Regions from separate parts of the Homo sapiens genome. Here regions 1 and 3 are each linked to region 2. The links are contacts of gene promoters, found by promoter capture Hi-C in blood cells and fetal thymus (Javierre and others, 2016). All regions are on one chromosome and are shown on one strand. The core of a region is centred on a gene start or on the middle of the fragment in contact, and the rest is flanking DNA. Distances in the headings are between cores, read along the strand shown.

Evidence for each region. Contacts are between HindIII fragments. The CHiCAGO score rates a contact against its expected background, and 5 or more counts as called.
Region 1: a fragment that was not itself captured here is called in contact with the fragment with the promoter of SLC25A3 in region 2 in 1 of 17 cell types (non-activated CD4 T cells); the score reaches 6.8 in non-activated CD4 T cells.
Region 3: a contact is called between the fragment with the promoter of MRPL42 here and the fragment with the promoter of SLC25A3 in region 2, in 2 of 17 cell types (total CD8 T cells and total CD4 T cells). The highest score is 9.8, in total CD8 T cells.

The regions. Positions count from the first base shown.
Region 1 is chr12:93,379,776-93,384,600 of GRCh38, forward strand. All of the region lies in intron 1 of NUDT4 (nudix hydrolase 4), which reads left to right. Among named protein-coding and RNA genes, the nearest start is that of NUDT4, 4.3 kb to the left of the region's middle. The HindIII fragment of the contact is 592 bases long and covers 2,066-2,657 here.
Region 2 is chr12:98,590,404-98,595,110 of GRCh38, forward strand. It overlaps SLC25A3 (solute carrier family 25 member 3), which reads left to right and starts at 3,283. Exons shown (of 8, transcript NM_002635.4): 1 at 3,283-3,337; 2 at 3,572-3,732. The coding sequence starts at 3,576. It also overlaps the pseudogene PPIAP8. RefSeq lists enhancers at 2,805-3,024, 3,073-3,697, 3,275-3,374, 3,698-4,322. The HindIII fragment of the contact is 3,126 bases long and covers 2,583-4,707 here.
Region 3 is chr12:93,465,825-93,470,456 of GRCh38, forward strand. MRPL42 (mitochondrial ribosomal protein L42) reads left to right here and starts at 1,690. Exons shown (of 6, transcript NM_014050.4): 1 at 1,690-1,730; 2 at 3,368-3,531. The coding sequence starts at 3,462. RefSeq lists enhancers at 1,522-1,581, 1,642-1,911. The HindIII fragment of the contact is 2,939 bases long and covers 1,471-4,409 here.

The DNA of each region.
Region 1 (4,825 bases), core at 1,112-3,611, 5.2 Mb before region 2:
AGCATTAAGTGTGTTCTGTAAAAAAGATAAAGCCTTAGCGGAAAGGGGCCATGTTGAGGCAAAGTAGTAAACTTTAAATATAAAAGAAATGATAGCCAAAAGGGATCAAGATAGATCAAGGATCTTGTCTGGTTTCCTCAATATTGTGTAATGATATTCTTAATTGAGTGCTTACAATGTGCCAGGCGCTGCCAGAAGAAAACTTGTTATACATTTAATCCTTTTAACACTGGGAGGTAGTGAAGTTACTCCCATTTTATAGGTGAGGAGACAGTTGCAGAGCATAAGTACCTTCCCAAATGACACAATTAGGAAGTGGTAGAGTCAGGATTCAGGGTCCAGTCCTTACTCCTGATGTTGGGCTCTGTTTGTTGAGTGAGTGAGATTTTTGTGAGGCTAAGTTTGGAAGCCTATCTGAAAGTGGTGACTGAAGTGTTGCCATAATGTGAACTTGGAATTCAGGCTTTGTAAAAATACTAGACTCTAGGGGAAAATATGAGTGATGGAAATTGAAATGATGATCTCTATTGTGCTTATGGTAAAGCAAAGACTGATAGAAGCTTTAGGAATTACTTTAGCAATAAAAATAAATGATTATTTTTATGCTTGGATATTATTTCTACTGAAATAAATACTAAATTCATAGCCTCTAGTTGAGTCAAGAGACCCGTGTCATTAGGTAAGGTGAAGTAGGGAGCAAGTTTTGGAGAATGTATTAGAAAAATCCATTGTATAAAACTTTGTAAATCTGATAACCTGTAGGTTGAGAATTGAAGAGAGTGAGTCATCTTGTTAGAGGATATGATCTGAGGGAAGACTCTAGAATTCTCCTTAAGTGAAATGCACAGCCAATTTTAACATCTGGTTTAGCTCTTCAGAATTTTCATTTCTGTGATTGTGTGTAGTTGAGGCTTTATCTATTACATGATTATTACAGAATAAACTCTGTTAGCTTTCCTGGAGATTCTATTGTTTCTCTATGAATTTGCCTTCACTCTGTTGAAATTGCATTGCCAGACTTCCCAGGACAGTCTAGAAAACCAGCTTGAGCCCACCTCTCTAGTTAATAGGTGAGAAATGTTTCCCTCTACTGGATGAAAAACACCTAGATCCTGGTTAGAAGATTTAAATGTATGTTTTGTTTGAGGATGAAATGTTTATATAGAGTACAAATGGAAGTAAAAGAGTAATTGCAATTTGACCCCAAAAAAGCTACGTGGCGCTCCCATCTGGCTGTTCCTGTACTGAAGTTCTCAGTAAGTTTCTACTTTAAAACAGATTGTTCTAGGAAAGAAGGTTGTTCTAAGAGCAGAGTTATTCTTTTAAGGTGGCTTTATATATTAAATATTTTCCATTTTATCTTTTTCTGTTCTGTAGGGTAAATAAGTATTAGTATTTGTTTAGGAAGAAATTAGGTAGCAGAAGTAACCTATCCCAAGGTCACAGAAGCTGGCAGATCCTTTTGAGCTCTGGTCCTTTGTTTCTAAATGTTTTGTTTATTTGACCTACCTCCCCAGCTAGTTATTTCTGTGGGGAAGCACCCTCAGTTTTGGCCGCTGGGCTTCTAGACAGGCCCACAGCTAATTGCCCTGTAGAGTAGCTGGGTACTGTGCTTGTACAGTGAAAGATGACAATGCTTTTACAAATAGGTAATCAGAAATGGATTCTGTTGAATGTATTTGCATATATGATAGTTTAAAAGGGGATGAAGAGATGAGGTCTTAGCTCCTAAGAATCATTCTGTAGGGAAAGGTTGGACAAGGGATCAATGGAAAGGGAAATAAAGTAAGGGAAAAGTGCGGTCGGGTATTCTGGGGTTCAGATCCAATGTGAGTCATTTGGAGTTGGATGTGGGTGACTGGGAGAGGAGGGACCAGGCGTCCCAAATAGAGCAAGACTTGGGGCTGTGATAGATTTGGCTGCAGCTTAGGGATAGCATAGAATCAGTAATAGTTGAAAAATTTGCAACACTTCAAATGTAAGGTTGAGAAGTTGCTACGCAAGAACAAAGTTTTGTTTTGAACTTAGTTTTGAACAAAGAACATTGAGATAGTAGATGTGTTCAAGCTTGAGAGTGATCTGGCAGCAAAATAGGTTTAGACTGCTAAGGGGAGAAGTAGAATGACTTGATCCTGTGTGAAATCCAGACATAGTTGCAAGAGAGGCATTAACAAATCAGTCTGAAGGACTAACCACTACAGGCCAGGCAGGTGGCTCATGCCTGTCATCCCAGCACTTTGGGAGGCGGAGGTGGGCAGATCACCTGAAGTCAAGTGTTTGAGACCAGCCTGGCCAACATGGCGAAACCCTGTCTCTACCAAAAATACAAAATACAAAAAGCAGCCGGGCGTGGTGGCATGTGCCTGTAATCCCAGCTACTCAGGAGGCTGAGGCATGAGAATCCCTTGAACCTGGGAGGTGGAGGCTGCAGTGAGCCGAGATCATGCCATTGCACTCCAGCCTGGGCAACAGAGCAAGACCCTGCCTGCAAAAAAAAAAAAAAAAACAACAAAAAAAACCACTACTCTTCCATAGGACTTGCTGCCCTAATTAGCTTTTAAGCTCTATGAGCCAGGGGCTGTCTTCTACAGATGGTCTGCTATAATGCTGAATATATATTCCTGAAAAATCTTGAGCTGTACAAAATCATGCAGTAAAGCTTTGGTGGGAAAGGTCAAGTCTGAAAACCTAAAACCAGAGCTCCGATGAGCAACAATACTAATTCAAAATATTACTAGAGTTAAATCTCAACTAGCATTTTTATACTTAGAATCAACAGTCAGTCCACCCTTTTCACACATACTCTGGGGCTCATAGTTCTTCAGAGTTAAGTCCTTGAAGGTATTTCTTTCAAATGGAGACCACTTTCATCAAAAATAAGTACTATCCAAAGGTAGCCTTTTTTTTTTTTTTTTTTTTGAGACAGAGTCTCGCTCTGTCCTCCAGGCTGGAGTGCAGTGGCGCGATGTCAGCTTACTGCAAGCTCCGCCTTCCAGGTTCACGCCATTCTCAAGTAGCTGGGACTACAGGCAGCCGCCACCATACCTGGCTAATTTTTTGTATTTTTAGTAGAGAAGGGGTTTCACTGTGTTAGCCAGGATGGTCTTGATCTCCTGACCTTGTGATTTACCCACCTCAGCCTCCCAAAGTGCTGGGATTACAGGCATGAGCCACTGCACCCGGCTTGGAAGCCTTTTTTAAACACAGGGAAGTGTCACCAACTTCTTCATCTGTGCCTCCAGCTCTCCCAGAAGGTTTCCCGTCATTAAACCAGGCATTAACGTAGAATTTGCATTGGATTTTTTTTTTTTTTCTTAGGGTCTTGGTATAGCTCAAGCTTTTCTCTAATTGAAAAAAAGCTTATACCCCGTCACTTTAAAACATTGACCTGCTAGGTAAAAAATCCATGGTCAACCTGATTTACAACATTATTGATAATACTTATCTACCAATCCCATATAAGTTGGAGCTAAACATAGTTTAGAAGAAAGAACTGTTATTTCTGGTCTACTCTGCCTCTGGTCCAAAAAGAAGTACTAATTTTCTTAATAGTAGGTAGCTGTTTAGCATGTATCAAACCATTTTCATAACCTATGTTCTTTTAAAATGTCTATGTGCATAGTGGGTGTTTCTAATAACACGGCTGGCCTAATTTTGGCTAAATTTTGGTTAAGTGTAGTAGAATTAGGTTAACGTAGTTTCAACCATTCATGATACCCTGATTTATGATAATTTGGAAAGAAAGAATAGCAACCTCGAAACAGTTTCTGAGTAGGCCAGGTGCAGTGGCTCACGCCTGTAATCCCAGCCCTTTGGGAGGCCAAGGTGGGTGGATCACCTGAGGTCAGGGGTTCAAGACCAGCCTGGGCAACATGGCAAAACCTCGTCTCTACTAAAAATACAATAATTAGCCAGGCGTGGTGGTGTGTGCCTGTAGTGCTGGCTACTCCGGAGGCTGAGGTAGGAGAATCCCTTGAACCCAGGAGGCGGGGCTTTCAGTGAGCTGAGATTGCGCCACTGCACTCCAGCCTGGGCGACAGAGCGAGACAGCGTCTCAGAAACAGCAACAACAACAAACAGTTTCTGAATAGCTACAATTTTCATAATAAACCTCTTCATTCTTAGGGGTCACTTGAGGTTCTCTGGATGGCTCCTCCGCTCCCCTTCCCGGGAACAGAAGTGGTATCTATAGTGGTTGGAGTTCCTAGAGCCAAGCCATGACAATTGCATCTTTAAGGGTAAAAGCTGAAACACAAATGGGAATTCGAGGCCCAAGGACCTACAGCCTCTGAAGGCATAAATGCATTACATAGCCCTTGAACAGCACCCTTTTATACATCACCAGCGAGGAGGACCCGTCAGGTGATAAAGGGTATAGATTCTATAAAATAGATCAGGGGTGCCCAAGCTTTTTTTTTTTTCTCGCTCTGTCACCAGGCTGGAGTGCAGTGGTGCAATCTCAGCTCACTGCAAACTCTGCCTCCTGGATTCAAGCGATTCTCCTGCCTCAGCCTCCCGAGTAGCTGAGACTACAGGCGTGTGCTACCACGCCCAGCTAATTTTTTGTATTTTTAGTAGAGACGGCGTTTCACTATGTTGGCCAGGATGGTCTTGATCTCCTGACCTCGTGATCTGCCCACCTCAGCCTCTCAAAGTGCTGGGATTACAGGCGTGAGCCACCGTGCCTGGCCTGGGGTGTCCGATCTTTTAGCTTCACTGGGCCTCATTGGAAGAATTGTCTTGGGCCACACATAAAATACACTAACATTAATGATAGCTGGTAAGCTAAAAAAGTAATAATTGCAAAAATATTTTATAATATTTT
Region 2 (4,707 bases), core at 2,033-4,532:
GAAGTCTGATTTTGCTCTTTAGTTTTTGTCTGGAAGTTAAATATGATTACAAGAGGTGTTCATTGATGCCATGTTGACAACCGATAGACTCTGGTACTTTTTTTGTTGCTGTTGTTAATTAGTTTTTATTTCATAATCATAAACTTAACTCTGCAATCTAGCTAGGCATGGAAAGGAACAAGGAAAACATAGAACCCAAAGGGAACTGCAGTGAGAGCACAAAGATTCTAGGATACTGCGAGCAAATGGGGTGGAGGGTGCTCTCCTGAGCTACAGAAGGAATGGTCTGGTGGTTAAGATAAAACACAAGTCAAACTTATTAGAGTTGCCCACAGTCAGCAATGGTGATCTTCTTACTGGTCTTGCCATTCCTGGACCCAAAGCACTCCATGGTCTCCACAATATTCATGCCTTCTTTCACCTTGCTGAAGACCACATGCTTGCCATCCAACCACTCAGTCTTGGCAGCACAGATGAAAAACTGGGAACTGTTTGCGTTGGGTCCAGCATTTGCCATGGACAAGATGCCAGAAACTGTATGCTTCCGGATGAAGTTCTTGTCATCAAATTTCTCCCTGTAGATGGACTTGCCACCAGTGCCATCATGGCATGTGAAGTCTCCACCCTGACACATAAACCCTGGAACAATTCTGTGAAAGCAGGAACCCTTATAGCCAAATCCTTTCTCTCCAGTGCTCAGAGCATGAAAGTTTCCTGCTGTCTTTGGAAACTTGTCTGCAAACAGCTCAAAGGAGATGCGGCCCAAGGGCTCCGTGTCAAAGAACACGGTGGGGTTGACCATGGCTGATAGCACAGGGCTCCTGGCAGCAGCGGTGCCTGCAAAGCCCAGTGGTGTTTTTTTTACCATGTCAACTTAGCTAGGCTAGAACCACATTTCCTAGATTCCTTTCCCTGCATAGTTTTGGGTTAGGGCTAGCTATAAGAGAAATGTGTGCAGTTTGGAAGGCAGAAGTGGAGCAACAGTCATTACATTCTGAAGGTCACCAGCTCCCACATGGGGTAGGAGCTGGGCCTGCAGCTCCTTCAGTTACCACTGTATCTTCTAGATCAACTTCTGTGAGTTCTGGGCCACGAGCATGTGCAGCCCCATGGTGAAGGGTACCAGCTGTTCCAGCTGAAAAAATGTGCAGCAAAGGGTCACGGTATTACCCGGTGCTGGGGGAAGGGAATAGGAAGATTCACTACAGTCATATATTTTTACATAATATTTGACTTTTTCATGACAAAGGATTTTTAAATTAGAAAAGCACCATAAAGTTGAATTAACCAAAAAAGAGAGAGAGAAAGTCCAGACCCTTCAGTGACTACCTCTGTCTACATAAGATCAGACTCCTCAGTCTGGTATGTGAGGCCCTGGACAATCAGGTGCTAGTGTACTTTTTTAACTTTATCTGTCACTACTTCCCTTCCTGTGCCCTCCACTCTGGAATTCTTCCTGGGACTGTAGGACTTTAGTTGGGCCAGAAGGGCTGGGTCTGGGATAGGGTTGCTTAGAGAGTGCCGTGATGCCGCAGCCTCAATGCTAACTTTTGTTTTTTTGTTTTTTTTTTTTTTTGAGACGGAGTCTTGCTCTGTCGCCCAGGCTGGAGTGCAGTGGCATGATCTCGGCTCACTGCAAGCTCTGCCTCCTGGGTTCACGCCATTCTCCTGCCTCAGTCTCCTCAGTAGCTGGGACTACAGGCGCCCGCCACCTCGCCCGGCTAATTTTTTGTATTTTTAGTAGAGACGGGGTTTCACCGTGTTAGCCAGGATGGTCTCGATCTCCTGACCCCGTGATCTGCCCGCCTCGGCCTCCCAAAGTGCTGGGATTACAGGCGTGAGCCACCTCGCCCGGCCAATGCTAACTTTTTTTAGGTAACATCTTCTGTAGACTTTTAGACATTATCTCATTGAGTTCTCATAGACTCTGCAAGGTAAGTATTACTCCCATCCAGAACCAGACACCTGATTTGCAGGGTCCAGTGCAAACTAAAAAAAGCGTGGCCCCTTGTTCATACATGTATTAAGAATTTCAAGCCGGGCATGGTGGCTCAGGCCTGTAATCCCAGCACATTGGGAGGCCGAGGTGGGCGGATCACCTGAGCTCAGGAGTTCGAGACCAGACTGGCCAACGTGACGAAACTCTGTCTCTACTAAAAATAGAAAACTTAGCCGGGCGTGGTTGTGCACGCCTGTAGTCCCAGCTACTCCGGGGGCTGAGACAGGAGAATCGCTTGAACCCGGGAGGCGGAGGTTGCGGTGAGCTGAGATCGCCCCACTGCACTCCAGCCTGGGCGACAGAGCAAGACTCCATCTCAAAAGAAAAAAAAAAAAAATCAAAATGACAGCAGAGCATTAAATGAAGTGTAAGGCCATGTGTGACTGTACCAGTGTGAACCTATGAGGCCAGTCCCACCCCTATCTTACATCTAGGGAACAGGTACACAGAGATGAAGTAAATTCCCAAGGTTACTTTGTCAAGAGCTTGGAAAATATAAGAGTCAGAAGTCTAACAGGTTGAATCCCTATTAAACTCTCCCCAACTAAACTACGCCCCTCCCTGTTGAGCTGAATCTAATGAAAGCTTCCTAAATGTATTAACCACACACACGCACAATCTGCTATCAGTCACTTTCAGTAGTTCATCGCTGTAACATCTCAGGAGTTCAATGTTTCAACGTGTTCTGTAGATTACTGTGATAACGCGGCAAGCTGTCGTAAGACTTCTTGCTGCACATTTCTTTTTAAAATATTCTCCAGGAGTCTGATGAAAAATACAGACATACCTATGTTTAATGTCAATGGATGGAACTTATTTTAAAAAGTACTGTAATGGCAGAAGTTGTGACACAAAGTACTGCAGTGATGTTGTAACTCCAACACCTAAATATATTATCAAGCATTCGCGTTTTGTTTTGTTTTTTAAGTGACTACTAGATACTGTGATTCACTTAAGTGAAGCGAACTGAAGCCCGTGGTCAAGGAGAGACACCTGAAGGTGAAGGGACAAAGCGAGCAGGGTAAGAGCTCGAGCCCGACCCCTCTCAAAAAATATAGACCCGGAACGCGCGCCTGCGCAGAACGAATCCTCCCGCGCACAAGCCGGGCGGAAGAGCTGGGGCGGGCAGGGGCGGGAATAAGGTTGCTAGGAGAACGCGATGACGCTACGGGCTCGGCGCTCTTCTCCACCAATGGGCGACGCGTACTTGCAGTGGCGCGCTGTGTGCGTCACGCCGACGACGCGCGAAGGGCACACATCTTAGGACCCGGAGGACGTCCGGCCTCTGTGAGCCGCAACCTTTCCAAGGGAGTGGTTGTGTGATCGCCATCTTAGGGAGTGAGTGTGGCCGGGCCTTCTCCTGTGGCGGGTGTGGGGAGCGGAGCCCAGAGCTCCTGTGGGGCCGCTGCTTTGGCGGTGGGCCCAGCCGGGAGCAGCCTCTTTCGAAGGCCGCCGTGACCTCTTCAAGGGCGTGGAGACGGGAAGGAAAAGGCCCCGGTTGGGGTTCCAGGGCGCCGGTAACGTTAACCGGCGCCTTGCCTGTCCTCTAACCGTCGCTCCCTCCTCCCCTAGAAAGATGTTCTCGTCCGTGGCGCACCTGGCGCGGGCGAACCCCTTCAACACGCCACATCTGCAGCTGGTGCACGATGGTCTCGGGGACCTCCGCAGCAGCTCCCCAGGGCCCACGGGCCAGCCCCGCCGCCCTCGCAACCTGGCAGCCGCCGCCGTGGAAGGTGAGATCAGACCCTGCCCAATACAGTCGTGTGGTCTACTTGTGGGCCGCCCAGCCTTTGAGGCCTGGACCCGGCTTGGAGGACAGGGAAGGACGAGTCCAGCCCGCTGCACCGTAGGACGGCGCCCAGTTGCTTGCCCTGGGGTATCGGCCTTTTCCACCATAGGCGGGTGTCAGATCCTTGGCCTTCCCTCAAGGGCGTGGAAGCGCTGAGGCCCTGTGTCCCTTCGTGACCTCCGTGTGCCCGAGGGAAGAGAGGCCGTGACTAGCTCTTTCTCCGCCGTGAGCTCGCTTGGTCAGCAAACTAAGTACTGGGTAAACTCTCCTCCCGAAACTACTGACCACCCACAGTTCTACTAACTATATTACCTGTCCTTTGATTTGCCCTTAGTTTTCTTAAAAATAGTCCTTTCCTAAGTTTTATATTTGTCGACGCCAGGTCAGTCATTTTTGCACTTAATTGTATATGAGATAACTAGATGTCCTGTTTTCGTGCGACTGGAGGAGGCAGCTTGCAGCCCTACATAGGCAATAGAAAGGAGATAATTGGTGGGCGTCCCTTTGGTGTGATTATCTCTTGGGATTCTTGGTGGTTGGGCCCAGCTTTAACTTAGTTGTGTGTGTTTTAAATCCTAGTGAAGTATGTACATACAGAGAAACCTGAAAACCGAATTGTAGGAGTCCTAAGAATGTTATCTACCTTGTGCCTGTAAAATCGAAAGATTTTTTTCTTTAAATCATTCATGTGCTTCTGTTGTCTTTAGTATGGATAGAGTCCTTATTTACACTATCTGTCGTTCAGTTTAAAAGTTAAAGCTAACATTATTTGTGTATTAAATGTATTTGACTGCAGGAATTTGTGCGTATCCGTTTTTATGTTACAGGAGTTCTTAAGTGGGGATAGTATTGGTTAGTGGCTGGGATAAACTTTGAAGTTGTTTGCAAGCCTTTTACATGTCGAGTGATCTTTCTGAGT
Region 3 (4,632 bases), core at 440-2,939, 5.1 Mb before region 2:
TACTATGTGATGTGTGTTCACTTACTTTCAATACTAGTCACTTCAGGAATATGGTTCTTAACTTGTTGAGGGGTTTATCAATTCCCTGGAATACATAATAAAAGCTATAGATTATTTCTTAGAAAAATATACAAAAGCAAAATTTTGCAAATCATGGGAGAAGGGAATTTCCAGGCGACCGCTTCTGCTTTACCAGCCAATCATCTACTGTCTTGGATACTTGCAGCGTTATCTAGTCTTTTCATTCATTCAGCAAACACTTCCTGGAGACCTATAATGAGACCAAGCACAGTCTGAGATGCTGGGTTTGCATACAGTGAAGAACAAGATAGACATATGTCTCTGTCTTCAAGGAGCTTACATTATCCAGCATAAGAGACATTAAACGAGGTTGGGTGTGGTGGCTCACGCCTGTAATCCAGCCCTTTGAGAGGCCGAGGTGGGCATATCACCTGAGGTAAGGAGTTCGAGATCAGCCGGGCAAACATGGCGAAACCCCATCTCTACTAAAAATACAGAAATTAGCTGGGCGTGGTGGTGGCCACCTGTAATCCCAGCTAATTAGGAAGCTGAGGCAGGAGAATCGCTTGAAGCTGAGAGGCGGAGGTTGCAGTGAGCTGAGATCATGCCACTGCACTCCGGCCTGGGCGATAGAGCAAGACTCCGTCTCAAAAAAAAAAAAAAAAAGAAAGAGACATTCAACGAGCAAACAAATAATCAATATAAAGTCAGGTAATGGTAAATATTCTGAAGGAAAATAAAGCGGGGCATGGAATAAGGGTGGGTGAGGCTATTTTAATGGTGTGGTCCTTTCTAAGATGATATTTGAGAAAGACCTGTAAGGTCATGAGAAGAGGTCAGAGAAGCACATTGCTGGCAATGGGAACAGAGAGTGCAAAGGCCCAGAGGTCTTTCCTTCCTCCTAAGATGGAAAGCGAGGTCCAAGATTCTGCATATTTACTTCCTCCCATAATAGGTAGCCAGCACAGTTCTGAGGGCACAGTGCCAGGTTTTCAGAGTGGAGGTTCTCTTCAGGTTCTGATTTCAAACGTCCAAATCCTAGCCTCCACATTTCAGGGCTTCTCTGGAATGTCTCTTCCCCTGGGAAACTTTAACTCATCTACTAAAGAGCAATCTACGATTTCTCTGAATATTAACATAATTTTTTTAAAAAGTACTTATAGGTTTGCATGGTGGCTCATGCCTGTAATTCCAGCACTTTGGGACGCCGAGGCAGGAGGATTGCTTGAGACAAGCCTGGGCAACATACCGAGACCTCGTCTCTACAAAAATATTAAAAAATTAGCTGGGTGTGGTGGTGTGCGCCTGTAGTACCAGCTACTCAGGAGGCTGAGGTGGGAGGCTCTCTTGGGCCCAGGAGGTAGAGGCTGCAGTGAGCCGTGAGGGAGCCATTGCACTCCAGTCTGGGTGACAGAATGAGACTGCCTCACAAAAAAAAAAAAAAAAAAAAGCTTGTTACTTTCTAAGGGTATGTGTTTGGGGCAGTGATTTTGTTTTTCTGGGCACCTTAGTAACACTGCGGCCACGCTTCCCCAACTAAAGGTAAAAGTCCATAGCAACAATCCTCCCTTTCTCTCTGCACCCGGGCCGCTTTCCCGCGGAGACTACATTTCCCAGAATGCCCCGCGGGCTGGGACGGCGCGCGCAGCGCTGTTTCGTGGGACCAGGATTGAAACAAGATGGCGGGTTCGTGGTGAGAAGCCGTCAAGGTAACCGCTTCCCTCTACTCCTCCTGTCGAGGACTTCCTCGAAACTGGGCAGTCCCACAGTGTTGGTCGGCAGTTGTAGAGGTCTCCCGCCTGTCGTTCCCGGCAGGGCGAGGTTGCCTGCATCCCCAGCCTTTGTCCTTCCTGCAGAAGAGCCGGCATGTGGCTGCGCGTTTCTTATAGCGCCCCCTTTGTTCCCTGGCGGACGCCCGTGGGGAGGTGATGCAGCTTGTGGCTCTAGGGACTCCTTTAGGTCGAAGAGTTCTGGTGCTCTTGGTAGCCTGTTCCTCAAACCTCTGACCCTCAGAGGCTCTGTAGCTTTTGTTTTGGGGTTGAATTCCGGGCTGAGGGACTTGATCTCTGAAATGATCTTCCTGGGGTGAATAATCTGACTCCCAGCAGGGCGTGCTTTTCTCTGGGCTTCGGACAGAGGGGACCTAATTTCCCCCAAGATGTTTTATTCGTGGTCAGAAGTCATGGGTTTACGTCCCACGCATGTATTAAGCAGCGATATACTGAGCAAGTAATCGATTGACCTCTCTGAGCCTTTGTTCTTAATCTGAAATGGAGATGCTGCTTCACACACTTGTGAAAGTCAGAGCACATATTGTATATGAAAGTGGGTTGTAAACTAAAAAGCACACCTATGAGCTCAGGGTTAACGGTGTTAATGTACTGGCAGTGCAAGGTATCAGTGTGAGTGGTTTAGACTAGCAAATAAGAGGGCCTGTGTCCTAATTCTCTTTTATCACTATTGGGGGGAAGGGCACGGATACTCATTGAAGACTATTAAAAACAAGATTTAACAATGGTTATTTGTCATTTATTCACAACAGGCCATGAAGATTGTGGTTTTCCCCATTTTGTCATTGGAGAAACTGAGGATCGTTTAGTTAATGACTTGTTTAAAGTTTCCCAATTTGGCAGTGACTGACTCTAAAGTCCTTGGAAGCAAGACGTTTAAATTTTGTACTTTAGTTTCTTCATGAATCAGAATAAAGATACCTCACATGATTAATACGAGAGCAAAATGAAATGGTGGTGAAAGTACGTTGGAAAGTTAAAGACTTTGTACACATATAAGATGGTGAAATTTTATCTGGGACTTGAGGGCATTTATGAGTTCCTCCAATTGAGTAATAGGCTAAGGATAGGCCTTGTTTGATATTTCTTTATTATTATTATTATTATTAATGGCTCAGGGCAGACAACTATTTCATTTAATCAGAAACAGGATAGTACTGTAAATGATGTAGTATCTTGTGTATGGAACCTTGGAGGGTGTACACAGCCACACTAGCATTAAAAGAATGAATACTCTGTGTACCATTTGTGAGTGACTGTTTCAAGAGTAATTACACATTTACTGAGTATTCATTAAGTGGAAGGAGCTGCACTGGGTCCTGCAGAGAAGTTTGTATCTAAGATAAATAGTAATGGACATAGTTCCAGTGGTTCTGATCTTATATTCTGTCCATGTCGCTCTTCGTCCTGTTGTTCAATCATGTGGAATTGCCAAGTTGTTTAAAAGCATTGCTTCAGTTGACTTCTAGGCAGTGATTCTTACCTTGTTCTTGTGGTGTTTAATATAACTTAAATTTACCATAGGTAGCACTGATTTTTCTTTATCTCTTCAGCAGGAGTAGAAATTGGTATGCTTAGAAGCAGATTCTAAAAGCAGTTTCTCTTCAGAACATCTTTTTTCATACCACTTGATAAGCATCTTGAAACACCATGGCTGTAGCTGCAGTAAAATGGGTGATGTCAAAGAGAACTATCTTGAAACATTTATTTCCAGTCCAAAGTAAGTGAAATTTTTTTTAATGTTTAAAAACTTTTAAACTTTTAAGAATTAAGAAAATTTAAAGCATTTAGTTATTGTATATGCCTGTAATTTGCAGGAGTGTTTGCAGCAATGGAAAGTGGGAGAAAACCTAAATGTCAGTCAGAAGGGGAATGGATAGGTCAGATGTGGTGTCTCATGCCTGTAATCCCAGCACTTTGGGAGGCTGAGGTGGGAGGATTGCTTGAGGCCAGGGGTTTGAGACCAGCCTGGGCAACATAGCAAGACCCCCACCTCTAAAAAAAAATGTGGGTTGGGGAGGGGAATGGATAAATTATGGTACATCTGAACTGTGACTGTCATGTAGCTGTTACTGACATGGAAAGATCTCCAAATAGAAACAAAAAAAGCATGTCAGAACCACATCTATATATATCTATCATATGATCTTATTTGTATGTTTAAAAGATGATCCATCATATGCATGTGTGCATATGCATAAATGCAGAGGTAAAAGGTCTGGACCAAACAGTGGTTATCTGTGTAGCCCACTCTTGGGATTTGGCTGAGGGCAGGAGTAAGGGACTGGTCAAGGGTAACTTTCTCTTGTTCGATTACATGTATTACTTTTTTAGTATTTCTCTCTTTTTTTTTTTTTTAACGGAGTCTGGCTCTGTCGCCCAGGCTGGAGTGCAGTGGCGTGATTACTTTTTTAGTATTTCTTAAAATGTGCGAATAAAGGGTAAATTCACAGTCCCATCTTCCAAAGATAATCATTGTTAATATTTTGGTGGATTGTCATTGTGTTTTTTCTATGTACCTAGCCATTTTTAAAAAAATGAAATGTAATTTCTGCCTTTCTTTTCTAAAGAACTGTATATAGTTAGTATTTTCTCGAAAGCTTGTTAATACATGTTTGACAGTCAAAGCATGGACCCAAATAAGTAAATAGAGTATTAAAGTCTTTTTTCTCAGCCAACTGTGCTTTCTTTTTCCTTTTCCTGTCTGTAAACAGAGTTTATAGCTCTTATAAACAGCTCTTATAGGAAGCTTTCCATTTCTAAAGTAGACATGTATAGAAGGCAACAGTAGGTTTGCCTTTTTATATTAAACTATGTGAGC